Regions from separate parts of the Homo sapiens genome. Here region 2 is linked to region 1. The links are contacts of gene promoters, found by promoter capture Hi-C in blood cells and fetal thymus (Javierre and others, 2016). All regions are on one chromosome and are shown on one strand. Each heading gives the region's core, a stretch centred on a gene start or on the middle of the fragment in contact. The rest is flanking DNA. Distances are from core to core; before and after follow the strand shown.

The links. The method cuts DNA at HindIII sites, captures the fragments that hold promoters and counts their contacts. A CHiCAGO score of 5 or more calls a contact.
Region 2: a contact is called between a fragment that was not itself captured here and the fragment with the promoter of MIR106AHG in region 1, in 1 of 17 cell types (activated CD4 T cells). The highest score is 5.3, in activated CD4 T cells.

The regions. Positions count from the first base shown.
Region 1 is chrX:134,172,399-134,175,865 of GRCh38, reverse strand. MIR106AHG (miR-106a-363 cluster host gene) reads left to right here and starts at 1,778. Exons shown (of 2, transcript XR_007068340.1): 1 at 1,778-3,467. RefSeq lists a silencer at 653-947 and an enhancer at 2,906-3,467. The HindIII fragment of the contact is 10,100 bases long and covers 1-3,467 here.
Region 2 is chrX:134,396,213-134,399,846 of GRCh38, reverse strand. All of the region lies in intron 5 of PHF6 (PHD finger protein 6), which reads right to left. Among named protein-coding and RNA genes, the nearest start is that of PHF6, 25 kb to the right of the region's middle. The HindIII fragment of the contact is 2,085 bases long and covers 1,080-3,164 here.

The DNA of each region.
Region 1 (3,467 bases), core at 529-3,028:
AGCAAAACACATATTTCAGTGGGACACTAAACTTCTCATCCTGGGCAAAACCAGAGTGTAACAGACCTTAATTGCAAGTGTAGTTCAAAAATGTAGAGTAGTAAATACACATAGAACAAAAGCTCTATTCTAGTTGTGTGAGGAACATAATACTCTTAAATTACTTTCTGGTTTCCATGGGGACCTTTTTGTTCTAAGATACCAATCATTAGGTTTAACAAAGCCACTTAATATTATTTCTAAATCAAGTAACATGATTTCTCAACTGGGTAAAATGTCAATTTTATTCTTAAAGGTGTTCAAATCCAAACTACTTGAGATTGCTGCTTTATATGGCATAATTAAATCTAGAGGTCAATACAGAAGAATCCCTTCACCCCTTTTCAAGGCAGAGGAAAGCTCAAAGTGGGTCTATTTTGAGGGGAATATTTTGCTGGGCATTCACCGTTTTTCTTTGAATCCATCATAAACTCAAAATAGTGTCAAGAATTTAAAGTTGTGATGAGAATCCTTAGGCTCACGAAAGATAACAAGTTCTCCCTCCCTTTGGCCAGTTTCCATACCTTTCTTACACATTCTGACAGAACATCTGGGCTTTCGTGTAGGCATGTATTCTATATCATATTTACATACATGCGTATATACGCACACCGGCCAGTCTGTTTGGTCATAAATGATGTGACTGGGGGATAGGAGTTGTGGCTCCTTTATTTTGCAGAATGCCTAAGTATTGTTTGTCTCACAATACTGGGAGCGAGCAGGAGCCCGGTGGGAGCCTGGAGCCTTAAGCCCTGGGCTGTGGTCTGGGGGAGGGGACGGGGTTGCGGGGTCACAAGCTCTTTGCTTTTAGCCTCAGCATGACCACAAGTTTTAAAGCATGAAGGGATCACGTGCTTTTCTTTGAGCTGTTAGTTATTCTGACTTTTGGGGGGGGTGTGTGTGAAATGCTTTGTTCTTTAGATTTTTTTGATTCTCTAGGTATTTTGGCCGATGATTAAATTTTTTTTCCAAAAGAAAGAGACAAAAATAAATCATTTGGTGTATCAAAATGTCCTAGTTTCTCATAACCTATATCTTGTACTTAGTTAGTTTTACCTTGTGCTAGACAGGTACTGAGATGGAATAAATTATTTTCGCCAGTTGGGAACTTGATCCAGACATTCTATATGTTGCAAACCCTTAAAAAAAATTAAGAACAAGAAAATATCCTGGTAAAGCAATCTCAAAATACCTTATTCCGGGTATTGTTCTAGCTTTAAAGGGAAGGAGGACTGGGAGGAGGGGTGGGAGATGGGGGGTGGCGAATAGGAAGACTGGGAGGATGTCTTGTTTAATGAACTGCTAAAACTTTTGGAAAATTTTAAGCTAGTGAAGTCCCTCAACACGGTATTTCCATTTGAAAACCTTTACTTAAATATGTCACTCTTGGGGAGTTACTTCTACTTGTTCCCTTTAATAGGATGATTTCATCTTTTCCAACCTTCTTCTGTCTCTCCAACCAAGACACATAGACTCCGAATACCAAATAAAGACTTTTGAAGATAATGAGATTTATTTGGGAACATTTTCCAAAATCAGGGTAATGGGTTTTTTTGTTCTGATGTTGAAGAGGATGAGGATATGTTTACTCATTGACCCGGGAGCTCTGGCTGCAGCTGTAGGACACAATTAATTATGCTAATAGTTTGTGAGGAGCGGATGTAGCTCCCCCAACCCCCCTTTTTTCGAGGGGAGGGGAGTTTGGCAAAAGGGGAAGGAGACGCCCTGGGGTCGGATCACATGATATTATCTTCGCGCCACTTTCGCAAAAACCCTTTTTTTTACTCCAGGTTTTGCTCCAGCTCAAAGGTACTGTTCTTATCTTGCTTTAATACAACGCTTCTTAAAGTCGGGTCTAAGTTCTCTTCCCTCCCCCTCCTCTTCTTTCCACTGCTAGTCGTTACCATTAAAGGTCGAAAGTTGCATTGCAGTCGGTGCAATCTCACAGGAGGGATCTGGTTGGGTAGTAAACTTCGGGCTGCGTAGTTTCCAGAAAGTATCACGCAGACGTGCCAGGGTAGGCTGCAAGGTCTGTTGCATGAAAAAGGGGAGGAAGCCCACCTGTGCGAGTGACTCGCGTTGGAGAAATGATTGTGGTTTTCGTTGCATCCACCGCTGACTCCTGAGGGGCGCTGGCAGTTCAGGTTGGACTCTTTCGCGGGCCAGGGGCGGGAGAGGCCAGTCTTTTGTAATGTTTGCCTGAGCTACTACTGTGCACCAGTGCACCAGGTTGAGAATCACATGGCGCCCTTGTCCTCTTCTGGGCTTTGGGCTGCCACAATCACCCTGGTAACAATGGTGGAAAGGGAGGGGTCCGGCTTCATTTTGCACCCCTTCCCTCCTTCCTTGCCCCCCGCTTGCCTTCCAGGGCTTTCCTCCTCCGACCCAGCGTGCTCACTGGTCTCTGATTTGTAACCTCGTACCCTGCACACCCCCGCCCACCCCCCCAACCCCCGCACGCTCCCCAAATCCCATCTTGCGCCTGTGTCCGCCAGGGACGCGGAGAAGGTATATAGCCCGGTTGTCTCTCATTTTGCCCGGTGTTCAAAGTCTGGTATGCTTAATTCCATTTTGATTGTGCGTCTTAAACTAAGACATCATTTTATTCTACAGAGCGCTGTCGGGCTTTGGCCTTGAAGCAGCCCGCCCTCAATTGGTTCTCATTAGCGGTGGAATGAGAGGAGAAAGCAAGATAATTGCACCGTATCTTCCGCACATTTGCGCGTGTATTCGGTGGCTGCTACCGTTAACGATACCTGCCAAGAAACCCTGATTTAGTGGGTGAAGAGGGCGCCTGGCAAGGGCGAAAGCCTCCCAACAGTAGCACAAGGTGCTAGGGGTTAAAACTTTCACATGTGCAGAGAGTAAGTCGTGTTTCTATTTCTTCCCTCCTCGGGCCTTAGGAACACTTTCAATCTAGCGGCGAGGTGGCGCGCATGCGCGCGCCGGGTGGGGGACACCCCTGTCCCACGGCTCCGTGGGCCTCGTCGTCTGTCTCCGGTGGGGGGCTGAGGCGAGCGCCGCGGGAGCGAGATGGGACAAGGTGGTAGTGAGTGCGCCATCCTGGCCCGGATGCCGGTGGCACCCGCACCGGCTCCGGCCACGGCCTCTGCCTGGGCCGCTGTCCCAGGCGCGCCTTTAATTAAGGACTCCAGCTTGGGGGAAGAGAGAAGGGAAAATGCCGACTGCGGTCCGCCCGTGGGTAACTGGGGCTCGGTGGGGTTTTCGCTTTGGCGGGGTGGGGGTTCCGTTTCCTAATTCCTGTGCGGGCCGGGTGGGCGGGGGCGGGCTTTTTTCCTTGGGCTATTAAAGGCAGAGGGGCGGGCTTTTCCCAGGGATATAGCTACGGACAGAGGGCCAAGGGGACGGAGCGCTCCTCAAGTGGTGGCAGGGAGGCTCGTGGCCCCGCGTCGCTCTGGACAGGGGCG
Region 2 (3,634 bases), core at 873-3,372, 220 kb before region 1:
CAAAACCCATAGCATGTACCACACCAAGAGTGCACTAATTTAAACTATGGACTTTGGGTGATAATGATGTGCCAATATTGCTTCATCCATTGTAATAAGCGTACCACTCTGGTGTGGGATGTTAATAGTGGATAGGCTGTGTGTGTGTGTGTGTGTGTGTCTGTGTGTGTGTGTGTCTGTGTGTGTGTGTGTGTATGTTAGGGGTTGGGGAACAGGAGATATACAGGAACTCTGTACTTTGTGCTCAATTTTGCTATAAACCTAAAACTGTTCTAAAAATAAAGTCTATTAATTAAGGGAAAAAAGCCACCCTTTAACTTCCTTCTAACTATTCCCTGCCCCTTTACAAGCAAACATATTAGGAGGCTTACCCGTGTTACTATTAACATCCTACACCAGAGTGGTACATTTGTTACAATGGATGAACAAATATAGGCATATTATTATCACCTGAAGTCCACAGTTTACATTAGGGTACTCTTAGTGTGGTACATTCTATGGATTTTGACATGTATGTAACATGCCATGCCACAAATCTCCAATTTCTCACTTCCCATTTATCGAGGTGCATATCAATACGGCTTTTACCCCTATTACTCTACCCAATCTATTTTCTAAGGTCACCCATGGCTCCGTTGTCACTGAATCCAATGGATACTTTTTCAACAGCCCACGAAGTTGACCATTTGGTTCCTTCAGGAACTACTCTCTTCCTTCCTTTGGTTTCCAGGATGTAACACTAATCTGACTTTCCTCCTACCTCTCTAGCCATTCTTTTTCTCTCCCTTTGCAGGCCCATCCTTCTATACCAAGCCTTTAATTGTTAAAGTTCCTCAAGGCTCAGTCCTAGGCCCTTTCCTCTTCTGAACGCTCTCCTTAGGGGATTTTTCCTCCACTCACAAGGATGCAATTATCTATACTCACACTTGGCAAATTTCTATCTCTAGCCAAGATCTCTATTCTGAGAACAAGAACCATATAATCAATCCATCTGCTTCTCTGATATCCCCACTTAGCTAGCTCATAGGTACCTCAAACTTGATCTTTCAAACTTAACTCATCAACTTTCCCCATAAGCTTACTTTACCTCTCCTGTTATCTAAGCAAGTGGCACCCTCCGTCACCCATTTGGATACGCCAGAAACCTTGGAGTCATCTCCAATATCTCTTTTCCCTTATCCCTATATTGGATGCACCTACTAAGTCCCATCAATTCTATCTTCAAACACTCTCTCAAATTTGTCTACTTCTGCTCATCTCCGTAGTTACAACTCTAGTCCAAGCCTTCTATCACTACTAACCAGGATTCCTGCAACAAGCCATTCTCTTTGCTTAAAACCCTCAATTACCTCTTGCTGTTCTTAGGATAATATTCAAAATCCCTACCATTGTGGCCCATGTATTCTTCTCCCAACCTCATATGCCACTCTACCTATCATTTTTGTTTGTTTGAATAAGAGACAGGGTCTCACTCTGTTGCCTAGGCTGGAGTGCAGTGGCATGATTGTAGCTCCCTGCAGCCTTGAAATTCTGGGCTCAAGTAATCCTCCTGCCTCAGCCTCCCGAGTAGCTGGGACTACAGGTGCACACCATACTCAGCTAATTTTTAAAATTTTTGTAGAGAGAGGGTCTCGCTATGTTGTCCAGGCTGGTCTTAAACTCCTGGCCTCAAGCCATCTCCTCACTGGAGCCTCCCAAAATGCTGGGATTACAGGCATGAACCACCATGCCTGCCTCTATCTATCTTTTACTTACATAGCTTTCTATCAATTCCTTGGAAGCATCAAGTTCCTTCCTGTCTAAGTCTTCAAAGATCCTGTTCCTTCTGCATAGAATGTGCCTCCAATCCTCTTTAGTCTTTTAAGACTTAATTTAAATGAAATTTCCTCATAGGTCCCCCCAAACATTTGCTCATGGCACTCTAATTTCTCATTCATGGCATTTATTACAATTGTAACCTATTAATTGTGCAACTATTTATTTAATGTACATCTCTCATATTAGACTTCAAGCTCTTTGGGGCAGAGACCCATCTAATTTATCCCTATATCTCCAATTACCTAACAGGCCTGGAAAATAGTAGCTGAAATATATTTACTAGCTTGTATATAATTCCGGAAGGACTCTGTCCTCAGTTAACTGTCACCATTGATAGGGGAGATATTTTTTTTATCAGAAATGCTTTCTTTTTATTTTGGAGACCAAGTCTTGCTCTGTCACCCAGGCTGGAGTGCAAATGGCGTAATCTCAGTTCACTGCAACCTCCGCCTCCTGGGTTCAAGCAATTCTCCCGCTTCAGCCTCCTGAGTAGCTGGGATTACAGATGTGTGCCACCATACCCAGCTAATTTTTGTATTTTTAGTAGAGACGGGGTTTCACCATGTTGGCCAGGCTGGTCTCCAACTCCTGACCTCAGGTGATCCACCAGCCTTGGCCTCCCAAAGTGCTGGGATTACAGGAGTGAGCCACCGTGCCAGCCCAGAAATGCTTTCTTATATGTTTCGAATCATTTTATAGGCAACTTATCTAAGCCCATCACCACTAACAGGTAAATACATACAGTTCCTGGGACGGGCATTCTAATAACCTAGTGACATAATGATAGTTATAAACTCCATATAGATTTTTAAAATTGCTTTTCAAATTCACAGTCCATTTTTTCCTGAAGCAAAACTGATGACATAGGTTTTAGGTATTTAATATTCAATAATATTTTATTTGTGATGGGAAAATTGAATTGCTATATTATGCAATTATTCTCAAATTTAATATTTCAAAACAGCTCATTTTATATAAAGCTAACATGGCAGAATGAATTATATATTAATAGCATTTATCATATTAAGTATTAGCAAAGTAAGTATTGAGCCACAGATGGCAAATGACCAAGACATTACCATAGATATTAATTCATCTTTGTTCTGGAGACTAGTGCAGTACAATTCTTTTTTTTTTTTTTTTAGTGCAGTACAATTCTTAAAAGACAGTCCCTGAAATACAATCCTATAACCTCCCATCATAAACCATGATCGTAAAGGAGAACATATGTTTCCCATTAGAACAATGGAATAATTGGAAGTTCTGTTTCTGACAAAGCACTCAAAATCAACTAAATTTGAGCTAGATCAATGTGATAAAAGCCAGAAATCAATAAATATAAAGCTTTAATACTTTAAATTATAAAATTATTCTTTCAAGGTCCACAATGAGTATAAACACACTATATATAAAAATGATACAAGCCCCCCGCCCATTGTTCTATAGACGTACACATCGAATCCCAAATTCAAATTAATTGTAGCACAAATCTGAAGTTATAATAATGCTGCCAGTTACAGTAAAAGAAAAGTTGTCTTGAAAAGTATGAATTTAGATCTCTATTAAGTGTCACAGTGCTAAAACATGGCCAAAATTATTCTACTTTATATAGTTTGCAGTGACTTCTCCCTACCACTAGATGGTACTGTCAGCTTCAGAAATCCAGGGAATAAAATGGGAGCTATCTACATAATCAGTATATATTAATCATCCTTCTTAATTATCTCAAATATCCTGTCTCAGTGTGCTCATACTTGTATTCATCAGATCATGAGTCTCAATTCTCAGCTTAACATACAGCATAACATAGTCTCAA